Regions from separate parts of the Homo sapiens genome. Here regions 2, 3 and 4 are each linked to region 1. Evidence: promoter capture Hi-C in 16 types of primary human blood cells and fetal thymus (Javierre and others, 2016). All regions are on one chromosome and are shown on one strand. The core of a region is centred on a gene start or on the middle of the fragment in contact, and the rest is flanking DNA. Distances in the headings are between cores, read along the strand shown. Region 1 holds the start of OPRD1 (opioid receptor delta 1). Region 2 overlaps EPB41 (erythrocyte membrane protein band 4.1). Region 3 overlaps EPB41 (erythrocyte membrane protein band 4.1). Region 4 overlaps EPB41 (erythrocyte membrane protein band 4.1).

What was found. Contacts are between HindIII fragments. The CHiCAGO score rates a contact against its expected background, and 5 or more counts as called.
Region 2: a contact is called between a fragment that was not itself captured here and the fragment with the promoter of OPRD1 in region 1, in 8 of 17 cell types (megakaryocytes, M1 macrophages, naive CD8 T cells and 5 more). The highest score is 6.6, in megakaryocytes.
Region 3: a contact is called between a fragment that was not itself captured here and the fragment with the promoter of OPRD1 in region 1, in 4 of 17 cell types (total B cells, M0 macrophages, M2 macrophages and 1 more). The highest score is 6.0, in total B cells.
Region 4: a contact is called between a fragment that was not itself captured here and the fragment with the promoter of OPRD1 in region 1, in 1 of 17 cell types (megakaryocytes). The highest score is 5.1, in megakaryocytes.

What each region holds. Positions count from the first base shown.
Region 1 is chr1:28,810,844-28,813,459 of GRCh38, forward strand. OPRD1 (opioid receptor delta 1) reads left to right here and starts at 1,327. Exons shown (of 3, transcript NM_000911.4): 1 at 1,327-1,767. The coding sequence starts at 1,541. The HindIII fragment of the contact is 20,164 bases long and covers 1-2,616 here.
Region 2 is chr1:29,060,913-29,063,528 of GRCh38, forward strand. All of the region lies in intron 15 of EPB41 (erythrocyte membrane protein band 4.1), which reads left to right. Among named protein-coding and RNA genes, the nearest start is that of TMEM200B, 62 kb to the right of the region's middle. The HindIII fragment of the contact is 3,472 bases long and covers 1-2,616 here.
Region 3 is chr1:29,044,230-29,046,845 of GRCh38, forward strand. All of the region lies in intron 11 of EPB41 (erythrocyte membrane protein band 4.1), which reads left to right. Among named protein-coding and RNA genes, the nearest start is that of TMEM200B, 78 kb to the right of the region's middle. The HindIII fragment of the contact is 2,216 bases long and covers 200-2,415 here.
Region 4 is chr1:29,021,685-29,024,300 of GRCh38, forward strand. The region is part of intron 7 of EPB41 (erythrocyte membrane protein band 4.1); the gene reads left to right. Among named protein-coding and RNA genes, the nearest start is that of TMEM200B, 100 kb to the right of the region's middle. The HindIII fragment of the contact is 1,878 bases long and covers 352-2,229 here.

The DNA.
Region 1 (2,616 bases), core at 77-2,576:
AAGAGCATTGCCCCAGAGCCTAGAGCTCAGAACCCCTAATATTGTTCCACTCCAGTTCCCTTTGGGATCTTTATTATCCAAAAAGTATTTCTTGAGCACCTGCTGTGACCCCAGCCCTCTCCTGGATGCAGGGGTCAATCAGACCTGGTCCCTTTAAGGAGGGAGACCAGTTCGGATAGAAATAATTACTATATGGGATAATTTAGTGCTGAGCACTAAATCTGTAACATGGGGACAATAATAATAGAAGCTACACCAAAGTGTTGGTGCATGGATAAAGTGCTTATCACAGTGCCTGGAGCAAAGTAATGCTTGGTAGAATGTTCTGGAAAGGCTAGGCACCCCAAGAAGAAGGATGGCTCTAATCTGGAATGGTTAGGTCTTGGAAGGGGTGTGGCAAGGATGACTTAGCCAAGTGCCCCCCTTCTATCTGCTCGCACTGCAGCCAGAGTGCTCCTTAAGGTGGTCTTCAAGAGCCTGCCCACCACCTCATCGCCCCCTCACTTCCTGCCTTCTCCTCTTCCTGGCTTCCTTTCAGTCCCTCTGCTTCCTTTATCCGGAATCCTCTTCCCTTGTTACTTCCTTAAGTTAGTTCTTCCCCAAACTTCACACCTCACCTCAAGTGTCGTTTCCCCAGGGAAGCTGTCCTGACCCCTGGGTTTTGTAGACCCTGCCACTTTCTCAATTCGTACCTATATCTTAATGTCATTTTAGGGTTGCTCGCTCTCTCTCCTGCACTGGGCTGTAAGCCCCAGGAAGCAGAGGCTGCATCTGGTTTTGTGTACTAGAGGGTCCCCCCAAATACCCGGCTCTTCTATTAGGCACCCTCAGAATTTTTGTTGAGCGAATGAATGGGGTGCAAGAAAGGCACGGATAATATAGGTTATTTACGGAGCATGTAACTGTCCGCAGGGCACTGCTCTAAGCTCTTTGTTCGAATCATTTTATTCAATCTCCCCAACCACCCTCTGAGGGAGGTGGTACGATTTTCCTCATCTCACAGACAAAGAGAATGAAGCTGAGGGAGGTTAAGTGACTTACACAAGGTCACTCCGCCTGTTAGTGCAGGGGCGGGAGGCGGGATCCACACCCAGGTCCCTCTGACACCAAAGTGGCAAGGGGGTGGGAGGGGAGTCCAGGTTGGGACGGGGTCGCACTCGAGCCGGCGGAGCATCCCTAGGGAGGGGGCGGGAGGCCTCCCCTGCCCAGCTCCGAGCCGGTGGTGCAGCGTCCGCCCCCGGTCGCGGGCGCAGACTGGCGGCCGCCTCCGGGCCACGTGGTGCGCGCGGCGGGCGCGTCCGAGGAGCCTGCGGCTGCTCCTGGCTCACAGCGCTCCGGGCGAGGAGAGCGGGCGGACGCCGGGGGCTGGGCCGGTGCGGGCGGCGAGGCAGGCGGACGAGGCGCAGAGACAGCGGGGCGGCCGGGGCGCGGCAGCCGGCGGCGTCGGGGCCGCGGCCTCTGCCTTGCCGCTCCCCTCGCGTCGGATCCCCGCGCCCAGGGCGCACGGTGGAGAGGGACGCGGCGGAGCCGGCCGGCAGCCATGGAACCGGCCCCCTCCGCCGGCGCCGAGCTGCAGCCCCCGCTCTTCGCCAACGCCTCGGACGCCTACCCTAGCGCCTGCCCCAGCGCTGGCGCCAATGCGTCGGGGCCGCCAGGCGCGCGGAGCGCCTCGTCCCTCGCCCTGGCAATCGCCATCACCGCGCTCTACTCGGCCGTGTGCGCCGTGGGGCTGCTGGGCAACGTGCTTGTCATGTTCGGCATCGTCCGGTGAGTCCGCTGCGGGCCGGCGCCGCAGGGCTGGAGCCCGGGGTGAGGGTGGGGATCACGAACTTGAGACCCCAAGCCCGTTCCCTGGACTCCCCGCGCCTCCGCATTTCCTGCAGGGGCACCTGGGGCCCAGCGAGAGGCGAGGCCACTTACATCGAGGGGAACACAGGAATGTGTGTCATCGTGTGTATGTGTGTGTGTGGTGCGGGGGGGGGAGTGCGCCGCGGTTGACTAAATTACATTTGATCATCTGTTGGCATCCCCTTGCTTCTTTGTGGGACAGTTTGGCGTCAGTTTGTGTGTCTGTCACAGTTTGTGAGTGGATGGTTGTGACAGTACAACTGTATGTTTGGACGTCGGAAACATGCCCATGGGGTGGGCAGAGCTGCTCTGAGGTGCCGCGGGCCTTTGGGGAGACCGGTGTGAGGGCACCGTGCAGGCAGGGCGGACAGGAGGGTGCTGGGTGTCAGCACCTCGCCGTGGGGCCCTTACCAAGTCATATTTGGTGCTCATCTGTTGGTGTGAGCTTGTCCCTAACGGTCAGTTTGTGATTCTGTCTGAATGTAACAATGTGACTGTTGTTTCTTGTCAAGCTCTTGAAACCCCGAGGGCGGCAGAGCATCCGGAGTGGCCGTCGTCCCTGTGTTTGTGCAGCTGTGTGTGCCTTTGCCAGTGATTCCTGGATAACATGGGCGACAGCTGTGGGCCGCCAACCGGTTCTCTGTTCCCTTCGCCAGTGCCCATCTGGTCAGGAATTCTGAATAGGATTCAGAGAAGACTCACGCCCTCCTCACAAATGCCCTCTCCCATTTTCTCTTTGCCTCCTCTAACAGTCTTTTCTTCTGCCAG
Region 2 (2,616 bases), core at 75-2,574, 250 kb after region 1:
AGATAATAGAAAAATGACAGAAGAACTGTCGGGGAGGGGCGGGAAGTAAGATATAAGAAGGAAAGAGGGGAGCCTAGCATTTAATAAGTAGTTACTATAAGATGGTTTAATCATAAAAACAGGCCTGTGGGTATGGGATTGTTATTTTAAAGATGACAAAATTGAACCTCAAAGAGATTAAGTAATTTCCCTGTAGTCCCAGAACTGGAAAGCCAAGATGTGAGTTAGGATCTGTCCAACTCTATTAAACTACACTGTTTTGCACTCTGAAATAGCAACATGCTGTCTGCTATAGGAGTTGTAAGATTATTTTCCCATTATATTCAACATTGGTCATATATATATAAAATTTTTATTTTATTTTATTTTATTTTTGAGACAGAGTCTCGCTCTGTCGGCCAGGCTAGAGTGTAGTGGCGTGATCTCAGCTTACTGCAAGCTCCGCTTCCCGGGTTCACGCCATTCTGCTGCCTCAGCTTCCCAAGTAGCTGGGACTACAGGCGCCCGCCACCTGTCTGGCTAATTTTTTTGTATTTTTAGTAGAGACGGGGTTTCACTGTGTTAGCCAGGATGGTCTGGATCTCCTGACCTCGTGATTCGCCCACCTTGGCCTCCCAAAGTGCTGGGGTTACAGGCGTGAGCCACTGCGCCTGGCCTTTGTTTTTTTTTTTTTTTTTTTTTTTTTTGAGGCGGGTCTCACAGTGTTACCCAGGCTGGAGTGCAGTGGCTCAATCACTGCTTACTGCACTCTCAGCCTCCTGGGCTCAAGCAATCCTCCCATCTCAATCTCCTGAATAGCTGGGGCTATGGGTGCATGCCACAATGCCCAGCTAATTTTTAAATTTTTGGTAGAGACAGGATCTCAGTATGTTGCCCAGGCTGGTCTTAAACTCCTGGACTCAAGTGATCCTTCTGCCTTAGCCTCCCAAAGTACCGGGGTTACAGGCATGAGCCACTGGACCCAACCTAAACTTTAAAAACTAGATAGACCTCTGGCTTAATATATAGCCTCTAATAATTATTTAAACCTCATCTTATTCCTTGTCAATACCTGTATTTTGAGTACTTGTTATGTATAAAGTCTCTGAGAAAAAAATATGCCCAGCCTTCATTAAACATGTATTGCGTGGTGGGTGAAATACCAAGTGCTTTACATATCTTTGTCTCATTTAACATGAAGTTTTTCGAGGCTGGACCCTCAGATATTTCAAACTTGGCAACTGGATCTCTTTGTTTTAGCCCATATCTGAAACCAGACCTGAGTAGTTCCATCTTCAGAGACTAGGAAGAATAGTGAAGGTCAGTTGATTTCCTTTATTTGGCAGTGTAACATCTTGAAATTCTAAACATGCATATTTCCTGACTAGTTCGTCTTCAGTGCTTCCTCTTAACTGGAACCTGCAGTACCAATCATATATTTGTCATTTGTTCCATGAGGTGTGTTATGGCTTCTGAGACTCACAAAGTCCCTGTGTGTGATGTGTTTTTCCCTCAGCATTTCATTGACAGCCCTGAGAGGGGATTTCTAAATAAGTGTGTTTGGAAATTAAAACCACTAACTGCCTTTTGAGAACATTTTATATTTAATGAAGTGTTTGGTTTGATTGCTGCTAAAATTATGAAGTGATAGGCATCAAAAAGTGTCTAACCTGAACACAGCCAAAGTAATTTGGCCATCATTCTTTAGAAGTTTTTTCCCCTGTAAGGAAGTTCTCTCAAGTTATCTGTCACTCCAGCAGGTTTTTTTTTTTTTAAGCATCCCTCCTCCCCCTTCTCCTACCCCGCCCCCACTAATGCTTTGTTCTGGCACAAATAAGGTCGAGTTCATTTTTAGATCTACCGCCTCCTCCTCCATCTCCCAGAGAGAACCTGTAGCAAGTTGTCTATGACAAATTCTATTTGGAACAGGTCCCTTTGAGATCTTAATTTTACTCTGTGCCCCCACAGGTTTTCAACAAAGCCAGCTAAGAAGGATGGAGAAAGCTCCCTCAGAAGCTACTGGTTTTACCAAAACATTTATTTTCCCAGGTTCCAAGCCAATCCGAAGCTAGGCAAGAAGAGTAGCAAATTACAAGTCTCTTACATTAAGAGGTTAACTAAGAGAGTTATCATTTTACATAGCATCTCTTGCTTATTTTTGTTTTGCTCTATTCACACCTTTAACCCTCCCAAATGTATTAGGTTGTTCTTGGCCCAAACAGATTTTAATTTCCAGTGAGGAGCTGGGTCACAGGACCTTACATGCCTGGTGGGTCTGGTTGCTCAGTCCAATACTGGGTCTTTGAATGGGCTTGTTCATGCTTTTCTTTAGCTACTAGACATGCTTTTCTTGCTTTCAGCCAGAAGAAAAGTGCAAACTGTTGTTTCCCCCATAGTGAAGTCCATATTCATAAAATATATTCACATTTCATCCCAGCAAGCAAAACATGCTCTTCTGGGATAGCTATAGGATTGCCCTTTTGGAGTTAGCTTTCTGTTTGATCTCAAAGCAGGTATACATGGTTCAGTCTTGCAAAAATAAAAAGAATAGACTAATGAATTTTCTGAATGAATATCTACAGAATCAAAATCGTCTCACTGATTATTCTTCTTATGCTGTTTTCCCTTTGACATTGC
Region 3 (2,616 bases), core at 58-2,557, 230 kb after region 1:
GTTCAGCATCTCACAGACAGTAAGTTGCAAACTATGACAAAAATCCAGGTCTGTCTGATAGCATGTTCCATGGCTTTCCTTGCTAAATGGAGTTTCATGGTTATATAGATACTATGCCTGATGTATTGTCTTTTCCTGATAGCAAAGATAACCAAAGAGTCAAGTGTTAATGAGCTTTGGTACCTTGAACAAGTTAGAAAGCTTTACAGAAATCACATCTTGACTGCCTTATTACATTTATATTCTGAATTTTTTTTTAAGATGTATGGTCTTAACTTTTCATGGTAATTACCACAGTTCTTGCTACAGTGTATTTAATAAATAAATATTGGCTGGATGTGGTGGCTCACACCTGTAATCCCAGCACTTTGGGAGGCTGAGGCGGGCGGATCATTTGAGGTCAGGAGTTCGAGACCAACCAGGCTGACATGTTGAAACCCTGTCTCTACTAAAAATACAAAAATATTAGCCAGTTAGCTGGGCATGGTGGCACATGCCTGAATTCCCAGCTACTCAGGACGCTGAGGCAGGAGAATCGCTTGACCCCAGGAGGCAGAAGTTGCAGTGAGCTGAGATCGCGCCTGCACTCCAGCCTGGATGACAGAGTGAGACTCCGTCTCAAAAATAACAATAAAATAAAATAAAATACCATTCTTTCCCTACTGCATTCCAGTGTCACCTTTGTTATAAATCAGGTGACCATAAATTTGGGAGTTCATTTCTGGTCTCTCTAATCTCTTGTATTGATCTTTGTGTACCCTTGTGTCAATACCACACTATCTTAATTATTCTAGCTTTTATAAGTGTTTAAATTCTCTAACAATATTCTCTAAGATTATCTTGGCTATTTTTAGCCCTTAGCGTTATCTTATATATTGTAGAATCAGATTTTCTATTTCCACTAAAAAAGTCTTAATACTTTTATTGGGATTTAGTTGATTATATGGATCAGTTTGGAGATAATTGGTATTATAATATTGAGTCTTCTGATTCACAAACATGCTATAACCCTCCTTTTGTTTGGGTTTCCTTTAATTTCTCTCAGTAATGTTTTGTGATTTTTGGTGTAGGTAACTTGTGCATCTTTCATTAGATTTATTCTTACAGATTTGATGTCATTTGCTATTTTATATTAATATTATTAGATAGGGTCTCACTCTGTCATCCAGGCTGGAGTGCGATGGAGCGATCACAAGTCACTGCAGCCTCAGTCTCCCAGGCCCAGGTGATCCTCCCACCTCAGCCTCACAAGTAGCTAGGACTACAGGTGCATGCCACCATGCCCAGCTAATTTTTTTTTTTTTTTTTAGAGACAGGGTCTTGCCATGTTGCCCAGGCTGGTCTCAAATTCCCAGGCTCAGGCAATCCTCCCACCTTGGCTCCCCAAAGTGCTAGGATTACAAGAGTGAGCCACCACACCCAGCCATCGTTTGCTATCTTAAATGGTATCTTTTGGTTTTTGGCTGGTTGCAGTGCCTCATGCCTATAATCCCAGTACTTTGGGAGGCCAAGGTGGGAGGATCGCTTGAGTCTGAGAGTTCAAGACCAGCCTGGGCAACATGGCAAGACCCTGTCTCTAAAAAAAAAAAAAAAAAAATTAGCTGAGCATGGTAGTGCACACCTGTGGTCCCAACTACATGGAAGGCTGAGGCAGGAGGATCACTTCAGCCTAGGAGGTTAAGGCTGCAGTGAGCTGTGCTTGTGCCACTGCACTGCAGCCTGGGCAACAGAGTGAGACCCTGTCTCTAAAATAAAATAAAATAAAACAAAATAAAATAAATGGTATCCTAAATTTTTTATTTTTTGTTCAATTGTTTTGGTACATAGAAATACAATTAATTTTTCTAGTTTGACCTTATACTCAGTAATCTTACTAAAAAAATTTTTTTTTAATTTAATTTTATTTTTTTTTTGAGACAGAGTCTCACTCTGTCACTCAGACTGGAGTGCAGTGGCACTATCTCGGCTCACTGCAACCTCTGCCTCCTGGGTTCAAGTGACTCTCCTGCCTCAGCCTCCTGAGTAGCTGGGATTACAGGTGCACGCCACCACCATGCCCGGCTAATTTTTTGTATTTTTAGTAGAGACGAGGTTTCACCCTGTTGGTCAGGCTGTTCTCGAACTCCTGACCTCGTGATCCACCCACCTCGGCCTCCCAAAGTGCTGGGATTACAAGCGTGAGCCACCACACCCAGCCCTAAAAAATTTATTATTAATTTTAATGGTTTATCTGTGGATTATTTGGGGTATACATTATTGTGTACTCAACATCAACTGAAAATAATGATTGTTGTATGTCTTCCTTTCCATCTCGCATTTTTAATTTCTTTAATTGCTTTGTTGCTGGCTAGAACGTCCAATGTAATGCTGAATACAAGCATTAATAACTATCATCTTTCCCAATTTTAGGGCAAAAGCTTCAGTATTTCATCAAGCTTCCTTATATGGTATTTTCTTTATCATATAAGGAAGTTGTCATTCTAGTTTCCTACACATTTTAATTGTGAATTAGTGTTACTTTTATCAAATGCTTTTTACTTCATCAGTTGATATAATAAAATGATTTTTCTCCTTTTTATGTTAATGTGGTATATTATTTTTACTTTCAATTTTTAA
Region 4 (2,616 bases), core at 41-2,540, 210 kb after region 1:
TCATTCTCCTGCCTCGGCCTCCTGAGTATCTGGGACTACAAGCGCCAGCCACCACGCCTAGCTAATTTTTTGTATATTTAGTAGAGACAAGGTTTCACCGTGTTAGCCAGGATGGTCTCAATCTCCTGACCTCGTGATCCGCCCGCCTGGGCCTCCCAAAGTGCTGGGATTACAGGCATGAGCCATCGCGCCCGGTGGCCATCTTTTCTATAAAACACCATGTTTTCTTGAAAAAATGACAAACTATGATTATTCGGACTCGGTTATTTGACACACATTTTCTCAAAAATGAAATGAGCTAGTACTTTTAGGAAAGCAACTGACAGTATTTGTTGCTAATGACAAAATTCAAGCTTTCTGGTAAAAATTGGAATTTTGGAAAACTTTTATATATCCCCATGATCTTGACAGCTTTTAAAGACTTTTCTGCTAAGGTCAGTGGTTATTTTAATGAATGTGTTTTTTTATACACATATTATATCAAGGTTTGGAAGATTTTCATAACTTGGTGAACAAGTATTTTTCAGATTAGAAATGCACAATGTTAAAAAAATCATGCACAGGTAAAAGATCCATTCAAAATGCAAGATAGACCAATGGATTTTAATGTAACAGTACAAAAAGTTCATTGATAAGTTTCTACATTTCACATTGAAAATTATCTTTAAGAAACTGCCATTGATATAATAAAAAAAAAAAAAAAAAAAGAAACTGCCATTGATAAGTTTTAGTGTAATACCAGAAAAGAATATTTTAGGCCAGGCGCAGTGGCTCATGCCTGTAATCCCAGCACTTTGGGAGGCCGAGGCAGGCGGATCACAAGGTCAGGAGTTTGAGACCAGCCTGGCCAATATGGTGAAACCCTGTCTCTACTAAAAATACAAAAATTAGCCAGGCATGGTGGTGGGCACCTGTAATCCCAGCTACTTGGGAGGCTGAGGCAGGAGAATCACTTTAACCTGGGAGGCGGTGGTTGCAGTGAGCCAAGATCGTGCCATTGCACTACAGCCTGGGCGACAAGAGCAAGACTCCATCTCAAAAAAAAAGAAAAAAGAGTGTTTTAAATTCATAGTCACCCCTTTTCAAACTACATGTCTGTGTGAGATCAGATTTCTTCACATACTGCCAAATCAATATATTGCAACAGATTGAATGCAGAAGCAGTTGGGAGAATTCAGCTGTCTTCTATGCCAGACATTGAAGAGATTTGTAAATATGTAAAGCAAAGTTACCTTTTCATCACTGTTTCAGAAAATATTGGTATTTTTCAGAAATTATGTTATTTATGTTAAAAAGTAATGGGATTACCATTATTTTATTTTATTTTGAAATGGAGTTTCACTCTTGTCGCCCAGGCTGGAGTGCAATAGTGTGATCTCGGCTCACTGCAATCTCCGCCTGCTTGGTTCAAGTGATTCTCGTGCCTCAGCCTCCCGAGTAGCTAGGATTACAAGTGCCTGCCACCACACTTGGCTAACTTTTGTATTTTTAGCAGAGACAGGGTTTCACCATGTTGGCCAGGCTGGTCCTGAACTCCTGACCTCAGGTGATCTGCCTGCCTTGGCCTGCTAAGGTGCTGGGATTACAGACGTAAGCCACCGTGCTTGGCTGGATTACTGTTACTTTTTAGAAATTTAATAAACATTTTAAATTTTCCTTAGTTAAAACAATTTTAATATAGTGAATACAAATAGCTATAAGCCACATAAAGAAAAGCTCTTGACCGGGCACAGTGGCTCATGCCTGTAATCCCAGCACTTTGGGGGGCCAAGGCAGCCAGATCACCTGAGGTCGGGAGTTCAAGACCAGCCTGACCAACATGGAGAAACCCCATCTCTACTAAAAATACAAAATCAGCCGGGCATGGTAGCACATGCCTGTAATCCCAGCTCCTCAGGAGGCTGAGGCAGGAGAATCGCTTGAACTCGGGAGGCAGAGGTTGCAGTGAACCGAGATCATGCCATTGTACTCCAGCCTGGGCAACAAAAGCAAAACTCCGTCTCAAAAAAAAGAAAAAAGAAAGAAAAGCTCTTTAGGGTCCTCAATAATTTTTACAATAATTGTTAAGAGAATAAAGAGGTCCTGAGATCAAAAAAGTTTGAGAACCACTGAGTTGGGGCAATAGGGCACCATAGTTAAAATCTTGGGCTCTGGAGTTAGCCTTTCTTTAAATTCAGACTCCATTCCTTGTTAACTGTGTGCCTCTTGGTAAGTTACTTAAGCTCTCTAAGCTTCAGTTTTTTCATCTGAAAAATAAGGGCAATAATGTGAATTTTCTAATTGTTAAATCAGAAAATTTATATAAAGTGATTAGTACAATGACAGTATATAGTGAGAGTTCAAATATCTGCTATGATAATAATAATTCTTGGCTGGGCACGGTGGCTCACACCTGTAATCCCAGCATTTTGGGAGGCCAAGGCAGGTGGATCACGAGGTCAAGAGATTGAGACCATCCTAGCCAACATGGTGAAACCCCATCTCTACTGAAAATACAAAAATTAGCTGGGCATGGTGGCGCGCACCTGTAGTCCCAACTACTCTGGAGGCTGAGGCAGGAGAATTGCTTGAACCCAGGAGGCGGAGGTTGCAGTGAGCCGAGATCATGCCACTGCA